Linked DNA regions of Homo sapiens: region 1 is linked to region 2. The links are contacts of gene promoters, found by promoter capture Hi-C in human tissues and cell types (Jung and others, 2019). All regions are on one chromosome and are shown on one strand. The core of a region is centred on a gene start or on the middle of the fragment in contact, and the rest is flanking DNA. Distances in the headings are between cores, read along the strand shown. Region 1 overlaps CNPY1 (canopy FGF signaling regulator 1). Region 2 holds the start of BLACE (B cell acute lymphoblastic leukemia expressed).

The links. Contacts are between HindIII fragments. The study calls those that stand out against the background at their distance.
Region 1: a fragment that was not itself captured here is called in contact with the fragment with the promoter of BLACE in region 2 in 1 of the 25 tissues and cell types used here (H1 embryonic stem cells).

The regions. Positions count from the first base shown.
Region 1 is chr7:155,536,825-155,543,248 of GRCh38, reverse strand. All of the region lies in intron 2 of CNPY1 (canopy FGF signaling regulator 1), which reads left to right. Among named protein-coding and RNA genes, the nearest start is that of CNPY1, 6.5 kb to the left of the region's middle. RefSeq lists an enhancer at 362-1,162. The HindIII fragment of the contact is 3,908 bases long and covers 1,762-5,669 here.
Region 2 is chr7:155,364,337-155,371,206 of GRCh38, reverse strand. It overlaps BLACE (B cell acute lymphoblastic leukemia expressed), which reads left to right and starts at 3,274. Exons shown (of 6, transcript NR_103545.1): 1 at 3,274-3,398. LOC105375593 (a long non-coding RNA gene) reads right to left here. Exons shown (of 3, transcript XR_928236.4): 1 at 6,741-6,870; 2 at 5,817-6,027; 3 at 176-1,405. The HindIII fragment of the contact is 9,929 bases long and covers 1-6,561 here.

The DNA of each region.
Region 1 (6,424 bases), core at 2,466-4,965, 170 kb before region 2:
TTGTCCTGCCTGGAGGAGTCTTGAAGCCAGAGGTGTTCCCAGCCCGGCCCGGCTGGCCACAGAGCGGCAGGACCCCTTGCCTGCTTTTTTCTCCTTTCTGGACCTCAGTCAGGCTGGAAAGAAACACAGGCCGTGTCTTCAGAGCTGAGGGTGCTGATGCCACAGGGTCCTTGGAGAGGCTGTTCCTCTGTGGGAGGGGTGAGGCGGGTTCCCCCGAGAATCCGAGTTCCTAAGGGGAGCCACGGGAAGAAGCAAAGCGAGTGAGTGGCCTCTCGGCACTGTGCGGACCCAGTGTGTGCAAAGCGGCCTGTGTCCATACCGGGCTATTCTCTCCGTCTAGCCTCGGGCGGGGGTGGGTCTGGGAGGGCAGTGTGGACAGGGGAGATGTGCAAACCAGCTTCTCTCAGGCCAGGCCTCCCTTGCTTAGAAGAAGAGTCAAAGGAGGCCCCCAGAGAGCAGCCAGTGAAAGGGCTGTGGCCGCAGGCGGGCCTCTGCCCGCACTGGCTCAGTCCCTGGTGTGGATGTGGGGCTGGGACAGACACAGAGGAGGGCCAGGTGCCCACGACAGCCTGCATGTCCTCTCAGCAGCGGGAGGGTCTTGGGGTCCGGCTGCACCACAGGAGCCCCGGGATATGTGGGGACCCCGCTTTTTTTTCTACTCTGCATACTTTGCCACTAGCAGCATTGTGGCTCAGACAGAAATCCCCCAGCCCCAGGGGTGTGCAGTGGCTCTTTCCACGTGAGGCCCAGCAGTGAGGCCCCAGCATCAGTCAGGAAGCTTGGGTGAGCCCCGAAGGGCAAGCAGAGGTCTCCATGAAGAGCCTTTCCATGCCCACACCCAGGACCTTCCTTCCTTGGCTCCCTACGCCCGCCCATGAGCAAGGGGTGCTCTGACCATGGTTGGGGGGTCACTCCTTGGAGCCTGGTGACTCCCAGACCCGTAGGTCCGGGGAGCAGCTGGCAGGACCAAGCAGGACTTGCTTTCCCTGGGGCTCCCCTGACTCCCCTGCCCAGCTCCGCCTTCCCTGCCTGCCTGACTCCCCTGCCCAGCTCCGCCTTCCCTGCCTGACAGCACTCAGCCTGGCAGGGAGGGAATCAGCTCTCAGGCCCTACAGCAGGGGTTGTGAATACTCCACATCGAGCGTCCCACTGCACGTGTTCTGCACCGGCTTCTAGGATTTTCCCAGCAGACTTCTGCCCCCCCGACCCTGCCCCTGTCATGGCAGCCGGCTTGCAAACACAGCGTTCATTGGCTGCCTTCCAGTAGAACTTCCCCTCCACTCTAGTGTTTCCAGAACCTTCCAGGTAAACAGCCCTGGGAGAATCCCAGCAAAGACAGTACTAAAAGGCCCCTTCAAGCAAAGCATCCCCTCTATAGGGCTGCCGTGGTTTCTGAGTACCAGGGCTGCTTACCCACCTTTGAGTGATGGTTATAGAGGCTGGTGCGAGGCTGGAAGACTTCCCTTCCTGGGAAGGACCTCAGGGTGTGTGGCTCCATCCACACTGTCCTCCTGGCCAGCCAGGCAGCAAGACCCTCGAGGAAGGGTGCTCCAGCTTCCCTTGAGTTAGAGCAAGACCCATGGACAGTCGCCCCACACTCAGCAGACTGCGGGGGCTCTGGGGAGCCTCCAAGCCAGGCCCGGTTGGCCTCCCTCCTCATCATCTGAGGCTGACCTGCCAAGCAGGCTAGAAGGGAGGAAGGTGTGGGTCATGTGGTGTGGGGAATGATTAGAAAATAAGGCTCATTATTGTAATCAACATCATTCTCAAGCTAGCTCAGAAGTCTTCAATGTTATCAACTTTATGGGACAGCCTGTAGAAGCAGAGAGGATGGAAGGGGCAGCTGTTTAGTAATACACGATGTACAGGGACCTCAGCTCCCGGGGACTGACTGCCTTGCTCTGTTGGAAACATTCTCCCTAGCCAAGGATTTTAGTGCCATTCTCCTTGAGAAATGAAATTCACGTGCCACGTCTTGCTCGATGTTCATGATAGGCTGGGAGCTCGTGCTCCGCTCGCGGAGGTCTCTGTCTTCAGAACAGCGGGAACGGGGAGGCTCAGCGGGGGAGCACTCACTAAAGTCCAGAGTTCAGAGAGCTGCCTCCTTGGCCTGGGGCTGTTGGGGACAGGTGGGAGACCACCCCTGCTGCCACCGTAGGTGGGATGTCTTCACTCGGTAGCTCCTCACACTGGCACAAAGCCTCGTCTGTTCAGCAAAATGCAGCCAGCATCTCAGCACTGCGGTTATTTCCCTATTATTTATTTATTTTTTAAACAAATTGGATTAATGGCACCTTTCCTAAAACAGGGCAACACAGCACAAGACAATTTGGAGGCAGTTACTTCACATTTGCTTACCTGTCTCCTCTCCCAGTGATGAAAGGCTGGCCTCCCGAATGAGGGTACGCATGCACTGCTGCTCTCAGCGGGGCACCCAGGGTCAGGGAGCTGGAGTCGAGGGGCTCACATTTGCTTTTAGATTTTGAACCTCCGAGCTCCAGTCACTGGATACAGGATGACCAGGGCAAGCCGTGTGTTACCCACAGGGACCCAGGAAACGTGTGTTCACCGAGGGAATTGTAAATGATGAAGCAGAGCTCAGGGGCGTCCTCTGCCTCGGCTGAGTGTGAGAGCAAGGCCTCGCTCTCTGCGAAACTTGGAAAGTTCAAACAGAAAGCACCAACAGCAACAGTGAGGACGAGGCCAATATCCGGTTTGCACCAACACCTCATGCTTCTTTAAGCTTTAAAACACAACTCTGGGAGGTAAACTGGGCCACTGTAATTAGCTTCATTTTAGAAATGCAGATGAGGCCCAGAAAGCTTTAGTGACTCACTTAATTTTGACAAATTAGTATTAATTTAATTTGCTGATAAGTTAATTTAGAAAAATTCCAATACCATTTGCTAGCGCTAAGATGAGGAGAACGAGACCCCAGTGCACGGTGCTTTGGCAAAGCCGAGCACTTGAATTAAAGGACATTGGAAGTCCTTCGAAGCTGTCTCAGAATTCTGGACTTTCTAACCTTGTTTCCTCCTCCAGCCCCCAAGTGCAGAGAGCCTCTCCCTGGAATTTCCTTATCCGACTTAGGAAACTTCTTTCCAAAAGAAATACAATTGTCTTAAGATCTCTTCCCGAGGAATCTGATCAAATAACCAGGAAAGATTTAGCCACCAGAGGAGAGAAAAGCCTAAAGGTCACCCCCACCCCCAGACTTTTCATCTGTTCTTCTGAGGGCAGCTCAAAGTGATGACCCTGGAGGCTTTGTCACATAAGAAGAAAATCTGTGTTCACGGTGCAGTTCTACCCCTCACCTTCCCATAACTTGCTGGTCCTATTCAGTTTCCTAAGAGAATCGTTGACAAGATAATGTCTGCCTCCTGCGTCCATTCCTTTCTCCTAAGAATCACTGACTCTCCCCTAAAATGGCCCACGGGCCCCCACTTCCCTCTCCTCCATGAAAAGGGTATTTAAGTCTCAACCATCTTGCCCTTGTTGGAGTCTCATATTTCATATGGCTCCCATGCTAACACACATGAATGTTTGTCTGCTTTTTTCCCCCCGTTAATCTGTTTTTCAGTCATTTCAGCAAGCCTTCACAGGGAGCAGAAGGGAAGCTTTCCCTCTGCTCCCACACTATTGACAGAGCTACCCCATCCCATTATGTACTATGAAACAACAGGGCACTATAACATCCTGGAGCTGTGCAGTGTGCAACCTGCACAACTGTACATGGACAAAATGAGAGGGCTGGCTATTCTATCAGGCCAGCCAGGAGGTGCAGGGGGATTCAGTCCATCAGCAATTTTCCTACTCGCTAGAGGGCCATGAAATCCGTGTAGTGGCATACAAGAATGTAGAAATATATATTAAATATCAGAGTACATCTTATAGAAAAGGAAAGTATGTTTTGTGACACTTTATATAATGGGTTTTGGTGTAAGAAGTGGGTCATGTCCAAAAAATTGGAAGCCACTATAGCAGATGGCTGTCCTCAGCATGATACGGTAGCCTAAAGATATTTGATTTAGGAAGATTATTAATACCCAAACAATGCCACAACAATTCCTGACTCCTTCTGCAGAAAGAAAATCAGAACATCTCCTCTGAATCCTCATATTACAGCAGTGACAGCTTTGGCTTAGCGGCCTACGCTTTCTATGGACCAAGGGACCGCAGCTGGGCAGGGTGGGGTGGGGAGCGACAAAGAAAGGGGCCCGAAGCTGGCTCCTGGCCCCTGGTGGCAGCAGCCTTGGGGCTCAGATTCCTGCTGATGTGCCCTGGCACTGGTCTCCTTTGGATCAGCATTCCGGGTCTACATGTGGTGTGGACTAGGGGAGGAATTCTTCCCCCATAGGAGCTCACACTCTGACCCAGAGACCTCAGCAGCCGCCAGTGTGAACGCCACGTCTCAGAGAGTGAAGGGTGAGTTGAGTGGGGTGGGCAGGAGGTGAATAGGAGGGGGCGCGAGTCAGCCCATGGCGGTGCTCAGAGCAGAAAAGTGAACAGCTTTGCATGGGGTCTCTTTTTTAACAAGGAGGACATTTGTCCAGGATCTCCCACCCCCAGCCCCCAGAACTCCCCCTCATATCTCATGGGTCAGGAGGGCCTCTAACGCCTGTGGCTAGACCAACTGCGGGGCAAGTGGGGCATTCGCAGACGTCCCTCAGATCAATCCAGACCCAAGCTCAGGGCCTTGTGGGGGCGTGGCCTGTCCTGGGCACGTGAGGAGGGGCAGAGTCTGGGGTTAGCAGGAGGGGGGTGGGAGGGCTCTTTGGTGGATGGTCCCCAGATCTGCCACAGTTCAGGGTCACACGCGGGTGAAGGCGGAGAGCCCAGGAGACAGTGAGACCAGCCTGCAGGGTCCCCAGTGTCTGAAAATGAGGTTGGTGGCAACAGTCCCTAGTACTTACTTGCATTTTCTTGCAAGCACAAGAGGAAGGGATGGTGTGCAGATGGACTGCAGGGCTGGAGGCCACACTTAGCAACCAGGAGTTTCAGGGATCACCCCTAAATTGTTTTGCAAGGGCTGTTGGCCCATGGATGCCACCTTAATAAGAAAATTACTTCAGCAACAATTGAGAAAGATGATGGTGCAAGAAAATGATGTTCACAGGAACCTGTAAATTGCCATGTGAAAAAATCCGAAGGGTATTTTCCTATTATTAAGTGCAAAAAAGAGGTTATTAACCCGCACATACAGATGCCCTCTTACGTGTCTGTGTCTGTTCACTGCAGGAGGGAGCCTCAGGAAATACACTGAGACAATAGTCACAGTTCTTGTATCTGCGTATTACTGCTGAGCTCCTTTCTTTCTTTTTTTGTTTATCTGTTAAAATTTTTTCTATAATAAACATATTACTTGTTAAATTTAAAACATAAAGTTTTGAAGGTTTTTTTTTAGAAATCAAAAGAATTCCATGATAATGTAGAAATTCCTATTCTAAAAAGTAGCATTGTTCTTAAGAAGATGGAACACTATACACAGACACGTGATTTTGTTTCGTATAAAATATTCAACAGAGGCTGGACGCAGTGACTCATGCTTGTAATCCCGGCACTTTGGGAGGCCAAGACGGGTGGATCACCTGAGGTCAGGAGTTTGAGACCAGCCTGGGCAACACGGTGAAACCCCATCTCTACTAAAAATACAAAAAATTAGCGGGGTGTGATGGCACATTCCTGTAGCCCCAGCTACTCAGGAGGCTGAGGCAGGAGAATCACTTGAATCCAGGAGGCGGAGGTTGCAGTGAGCTGAGATCGCACCATTGCACCCCAGCCTGGACGACAAAAGCGAAACTCCGTCTCAAAAAAAAAAAAAAAAGAAAAGAAAAAAAATTCCACAGAAAGCTGTGATGTGGCCCTTCCTTGAATTGTCCAGCTTCATTCCTGGTGGTGTCACTGGCCCTGGAGCAGCCTCAGGAACCGATGCAATCCTCTATTTTTGCTCCATGCATGTGTCCTTTGGTGCTTTAAGAGTCCTCGGAAGGAGAGGCTGGAAGGGAGGTAGCTTCCCCCTTTATCTCTGCTGCTACTCTCTCTTCTTTCCATAACTCTCATTGGCCAAGGACCTGCTCTTCTGAGACACGTGGGTCTCATCTCTCAACCATCTAGAGGACATGAGAAGATGTTAGCATGCGGAGTAATAAATAGCCCCGGCTCCTTTACTTACAGTCCTCATGTTCCTTTCCTCTCAAAGAAGAGCAAGAAGCATCAACAGATGGATGCTCTGGTCCTTACATCCCTAGGACTGGGGGTTGTATACATTTTTAATTTATTTGGTGGCTTTTATTGTGTACCATCTTCTATTTTATTTCTCTTTTATCTTATTTAAAAAGAGAAACACCATCACTCATTTTTATTTAAATTGCTGGCATGATTCTTTACTGATGGTGTTTGTCAGAATAGTTTAAGTATCATACAC
Region 2 (6,870 bases), core at 2,025-4,524:
GTAGCCACCCCTGTAACAATGACTAACTTTCAGGTGGGGCGCACAGTGTCTGGGGACAGGTGGAACTAGTAGCCACCCCTGTAACAATGACTAACTTTCAGGTGGGGCACACAGTGTCTGGGGACAGGTGGAACTAGTAGCCACCCCTGTAACAATGACTAACTTTCACGAGTGATTCCGGCAGGCCAAGTGTCTTTTCAGCATGTTTTGTGGGTGATTTTATTTTTATTTATTTATTATTATTATTTTTTGAGACAGAGTTTTGCTCTCGTTGCCCAGGCCGGAGTGCAATGGTGCTATCTTGGCTTACCACAACCTCCACCTTCCGGGTTCAAGCGATTCCCCTGCCTCAGCTTCCCAAGTAGCTGGGATTACAGGCATGAGCTACCATACCCAGCTAAATTTGTATTTTTAGTAGAGACGGGGTTTCTCCATGTTGGTCAGGCTGGTATTGAACTCCTGACCTCAGGTGATCCACCTGCCTCAGCCTCCCAAAGTGATGGGATTACAGGCATGAGCCATCGCGCCCGACCTGTTTTATTTATTTACTTTTTGAGATAGTCTCATTCTGTCTTCTAGGCCAGAGTGCAGTGACGCACTCATGGCTCTCTGCAGCCTCGACCTCCTGGGCTCAAGCAATCCTCCCACCTCAGCCTCCCGAGTAGGTAGGACTACAGGTGCACACCACCAATTGTTTAATTTTTGTAGAGACAGAGTCTCACTATGTTGCCCAGGCTGGTCTTGAACTCTTGACCTCAAAAGATCCTCCCTCCTCAGCCTCCCAGAGCATTGGGATGACAATCATGAGCCATCACAGCTGGCCTGTGGGTGATTTTATTTATTCCTCGAGATAGGTACATTTATTATCTCCATTTACATCTGAGGAAACTGAGGCACAAAGGGGCAAAATAACATTTCCAAGCCTGCTGACTGGTAAGTGGCCAGCATTTGACTGAGGAGGTCTGTCTCTAGAAACCCTGCCCCTGCTGCCCCTTCTGTGTCTGAGTGTGGCAGTCAGACCCCAGAGGGAATCCCACACCTGTAAAATAAAAACAATCAGCTGGCCCTGCTGACCTCGCTGGGGAGCGAAGCCCAGCCTAAAAAGGGATGAGTACCCTGAAAAGGTTCTGCTTGGGTGTGGCCGTGCAGGAAACGCTCCTGCTTTCTTGCCTGCCTGTCATCGATGACCCGAATAATCTCTGCACCAGATCTGTGTTTGTCTCTTCCCTGCTGTAGGTCGCTGTGGCCTTGCCCCTCAGAACAACAGAGCAATGGGCTGCGGCCAGGCAGCGCTCTGCGCTTTGATGAATTTTAAAGCGTTGGAGTGATCACAGGATGTCCGTCCGAGTTTCACAGTTAGCGAGCTGCTGAGCTGAGCCGAGCTGAGGGTTGGCAGGGTAGAGTCCTATGGGAGAAACACTGCTTGGATCACAGAGATTTCTGTGTATCAGGAACCAACAAATACTAAGTAAGCACTTGCTGTGGCTAAATGCTTACCACATCGGCTGAGTAGGGGGTGTGCAGATGGGGGAGTCCCACAGCCCCCAAAACCAGCTACAACATCCACGTTTTACTCAGACAAGGGGCCCTCAAGCACCACCTCATGCCGAAGTGCTGCTTCACGTGAATAGAGCTAGGATTCTAAGCCAAAAGGCCTTTCTAGAACTTTCTGCATGTACCAAAGAAGCTGCTTCCACCTCACTGCCTCCTTTCCACTGTTAGTGTTCTGCTGAGGCTTCTCTTGGGCTCTGCCTCTCCCTGCCCAACACCTGAGAAAGGCCTGATCAGTGCTGGAGGCACTGGGTGGCACCTCTCCTGCGGACGTGCTTCCCACGTAAGGCAGGTATAGGGAGACCTGCCTGTCTAGAAAGACATATGTTTACATGTCAGAGAGAAACACAACACCTGCACTCTCTAACCATTTCCTGAAAGACCCCTCTTGACACACCTTAGGGGCTTCAGGGCCACACTGCCTGGCACAGCTGGTTCCCAGTGTGGACCTGTCTCCACTGCCAGCCCCTGCCCCACCCTCTCCACCTGAGTCCTGATCCCTGGTGACCAAGAGAGGCTGTGCTGCTTCTGGCCTTCACAGTAAGCCAGATGGCCTGGGAAGCGAGACTCTCTCTGCCTCCCAGCACTCCAGGCTGCAGTTGCTGTTTCATCATCCATGGGTGTAAAACACCAAGCAAGTGACATGATACAGAATGACCTCCCTGTGCTGGCAGTGGCACCACAGAAACAGGAAGACTCAGAGCCAGAAGCTGCCTGCGCAGATTGCCATTATGGAGCCTGGGAAATCAAGTCCTAGAAAGATTATCTGTTTTTTTTTTTTTTTTTGAGATAGGAGCTTGCTCTGTCGCCCAGGCTGGAGTGCAGTGGTGTGATCACTGCTCACTGCAGCCTCTGCCTTCTGGGCTCAAGCAATCCTCTAGCTTCATCCTCCCAAGTAGCTGGGACTACAGGCATGCGCCGCCATGCTTGGCTAATTTTTTAAACTTCTTGTAGAGACAAGGTCTCACTATGTTGCCCTGGTTGGTCTTGAACTCCTTGGCTCCAGTGATCCGCCTGCCTCCAGTGATCCTCCCACCTCGGCCTCCCAAAGTGCTGGGATTACAGGCATGAGCCACTGTACCTGTCCTAGAAAGATTAAAGGATACCTCTACGTCTACCTCTACCTCTACCTCTACCTCTACCTCTACCTCTACCTCTACCTCTAACCTCTAACCTCTAACCTCTAACCTCTACCTCTACCTCTACCTCTACCTCTCCCCACGGTCTCCTTCCACGGTCTCCCTCTGATGCCGAGCCGAAGCTGGACTGTACTGCTGCGATCTCGGCTCACTGCAACCTCCCTGCCTGATTCTCCTGCCTCAGCCTGCCGAGTGCCTGTGATTGCAGGCACGCGCCGCCACGCCTGACTGGTTTTCGTTTTTTTTTGGTGGAGACGGGGTTTCGCTGTGTTGGCCGGGCTGGTCTCCAGCTCCTAACCGCGAGTGATCCGCCAGCCTCGGCCTTCCGAGGTGCTGGGATTGCAGACGGAGTCTCGTTCACTCAGTGCTCAATGGTGCCCAGGCTGGAGTGCAGCGGCGTGATCTCGGCTCACTACAACCTACACCTCCCAGCCGCCTGCCTTGGCCTCCCAAAGAGCCGAGATTGCAGCCTCTGCCCGGCCGCCACCCCGTCTGGAAAGTGAGGAGCGTCTCTGCCTGGCCGCCCATCGTCTGAGAGGTGGGGAGCACCTCTGCCTGGCAACCACCCCGTCTGAGAAGTGAGGAGCCCCTCCGTCCAGCAGCCACCCCGTCTGGGAAGTGAGGAGCGTCTCCGCCCGGCAGCCACCCCGTCCGGGGGGGAGGTGGGGGGGGTCAGCCCCCCGCCCGGCCAGCCGCCCCGTCCGGGAGGTGAGGGGCTCCTCTGCCCGGCCGCCCCTACTGGGAAGTGAGGAGCCCCTCTGCCCGGCCAGTCGCCCCGTCCAGGAGGGAGGTGGGGGGGTCAGCCCCCCGCCCGGCCAGCCACCCAGTCCGGGAGGGGGGAGGGGGGTCAGCCCCCTGCCCGGCCAGCCGCCCCGTCCGGGAGGGAGGTGGGGGGATCAGCCCCCCGCCTGGCCAGCCGCCCCGTCCGGGAGGTGAGGGGCGCCTCTACCCGGCCGCCCCTACTGGGAAGTGAGGACTCCTCTGCCCGGCCAGCCGCCCCGTCCGGGAGGGAGGTGGGGGGTCAGCCCCCCGCCCGGCCAGCCGCCCCGTCCGGGAGGGAGGTGGGGGGATCAGCCCCCCGCCTGGCCAGCCGCCCCGTCCGGGAGGTGAGGGGCGCCTCTGCCCGGCTGCCCCTACTGGGAAGTGAGGAGCCCCTCTGCCCGGCCAGCCGCCTCGTCCGGGAGGGAGGTGGGGGGTCAGCCCCCCGCCCGGCCAGCCGCCCCGTCCGGGAGGGAGGTGGGGGGATCAGCCCCCCGCCCGGCCAGCCACCCCGTCCGGGAGGTGAGGGGCGCCTCTGCCCGGCCGCCCCTACTGGGAAGTGAGGAGCCCCTCTGCCCGGCCAGCCGCCCCGTCCGGGAGGGAGGTGGGGGGTCAGCCCCCCGCCCGGCCAGCCGCCCCGTCCGGGAGGGAGGTGGGGGGATCAGCCCCCCGCCCGGCCAGCCGCCCCGTCCGGGAGGTGAGGGGCGCCTCTGCCCGGCCGCCCCTACTGGGAAGTGAGGAGCCCCTCTGCCCGGCCAGCCGCCCCGTCCGGGAGGGAGGTGGGGGGGTCAGCCCCCCGCCCGGCCAGCCGCCCCGTCCGGGAGGTGAGGGGCGCCTCTGCCCGGCCGCCCCTACTGGGAAGTGAGGAGCCCCTCTGCCCGGCCAGCCGCCCCGTCCGGGAGGGAGGTGGGGGGGTCAGCCCCCCGCCCGGCCAGCCGCCCCGTCCGGGAGGTGAGGGGCGCCTCTGCCCGGCCGCCCCTACTGGGAAGTGAGGAGCCCCTCTGCCCGGCCAGCCGCCCCGTCCGGGAGGGAGGTGGCGGGGGTCAGCCCCCCGCCCGGCCAGCCGCCCCGTCCGGGAGGTGAGGGGCGCTTCTGCCCGGCCGCCCCTACTGGGAAGTGAGGAGCCCCTCTGCCCGGCCACGACCCCGTCTGGGAGGTGTGCCCAGCGGCTCATTGGGGATGGGCCATGATGACAATGGCGGCTTTGTGGAATAGAAAGGCGGGAAGGGTGGGGAAAAAATTGAGAAATCGGATGGTTGCCGGGTCTGTGTGGATAGAAGTAGACATGGGAGACTTTTCATTTTGTTCTGTACTAAGAAAAATTCTTCTGCCTTGGGATCCTGTTGATCTATGACCTTACCCCCAACCCCATGCTCTCTGAAACATGTGCTGTGTCCACTCAGGGTTAAATGGATTAAGGGCGGTGCAAGATGTGCTTTGTTAAACAGATGCTTGAAGGCAGCATGCTCGTTAAGAGTCATCACCACTCCCTAATCTTAAGTACCCAGGGACACAAACACTGCGGAAGGCCACAGGGTCCTCTGCCTAGGAAAACCAGAGACCTTTGTTCACTTGTTTATCTGCTGACCTTCCCTCCACTATTGTCCTATGACCCTGCCAAATCCCCTTCTGCAAGAAACACCCAAGAATGATCAATAAAAAAAAAAAAAAAAAAAAAAAGAAGAGTTCCAAAAAATTTAACAGCATTTCCAGCAATGATTATTTCTGAAATAAAAAGATATGAAACATAATTTATACAAAACTAAAAAAAAAAAAAAAAAAAAAAAAAAGGATTAAAGGATCAACCATCAGGTCCCTAACCACAGACCCAAAGACGGAAGCCTTGGCAGGTAATAGTAGTAGTAATAATAATAACAATAACCCACAGCATCGCCAGGCATCATGCAGCTCTGTGAGTGCAGCCCCATAGCAAGCCCCAAAGGTAGATGCTCTTCTTCTTCTCATCTTACAGAGGCACCCAGGGGCTTGGTGACTTCCCCAAGGCCACACAGCCTGCTAACTGTGCTAAGTGGTGACCCGTTCCCTTGAATGGTAACCACGCCATCTGGCTCAAAACTACTGGCCAGCACTGCCTCTCACAGAGACTCCTGTCCCATCCAATGTGGATAAATAAGCATAGATAAGAGAGAGGCGGAAGGAAGGCCCAGCCACCCACCCAGCTGCAGAGTCCCTGCCTTTAATCCTCAGAACCTGCCTGTCCCTGAGGGCAGATGTAATGAAAGAAGGTTTGAATCTTCTAGTTTTATCTGAAAGGACACAGCTGGCCCTGAATGCCGTTCACCCAATAACCCACACGGGAGAGACTCCAGATGTTGTCTTAATGCCCGAGCCTCAGCTCCCACTTACCCTCTTTCCTGGGCTTTGATCGCATGAGTCTTAATCCCCGCTGGTGACCTGGCCTCCATCCACCTGTTTCCGTCCACTATCTGGGAAGGCAGCAATGCCAACCTCTTCGGAATTCTTTGGCCTAAACACCTGTTCCCATCAACGATTCCTGTTCCTGAAACCTCCTGCCTTCCCAAGGGATGGCACCAACACAGCTGGAGTGAGGCTGTCACTGCTCCCTCCAGCAAATGTCCCCAAATCATCAAAAAAAAGGAAAGCTTAGTTAATATCTTGCAATTAAAAGTCAGGAGATGTGTCTGCTTAATAACAAATTAGATGATTTCTTCCAAAGTGGACAAAATATGATTAAAAGTTGAGATTCTTATTACACATCGAGAAAACTTAGCTCCCTACAAAAACAAAGAGTTTTGCTGTAGTTCATTCCAAGGCTTTGCAATGCAAACAACCATGAATGAAGACTTAGGAGCCTGCCTGGATGGTGGCTCTGAGCATGGGCTAAGCCCCCAGCAGGCTGAATTAGAGCTTACTAGCTGTGTGGCTTTGTCCTCCAACCTCTCTGAGTCTTATTCTCTTCCCTCCAAAGTGGGGCAGGAATCATAACCACAGATGCTGGGATGCTGCACGAGAGAAACTCTTGGGGATCAATTCCTGTCACTAACGCTAGCTGCTCTCAGCCACTCTTCTCTTTAGACCTCAGCAAGACCAGCGGGGCTCAGTCATGCCCGTCTGTACCCACAGCTGTCAATCCCAGGTCGAGGGCTTAGGTCAGGGAGAAGATGAAACGAGCCCAAGGAGGGAGGAATAGAAATAGGGCCACGGGGCAGAGAAGCAGAAGGTGCTGGGGTTGGGAGGAACTGGTGCTGTGGTCCCCCCTTCAGCTCTTTCTTGGACAGACACTCAAGAGTGTCCCATGGGGATACCCACGGTGTGTCTGCTCCTGCACAGCCCCTCTGGATGCCGATAGAGTCGGTTTGACGTTTGACCTGCCTCACGGGCCTTGCTTCACTCTTCCTGCGCATCTGGCCTGTCCTCCGTGAGCTCCGCAGCCAGGGTG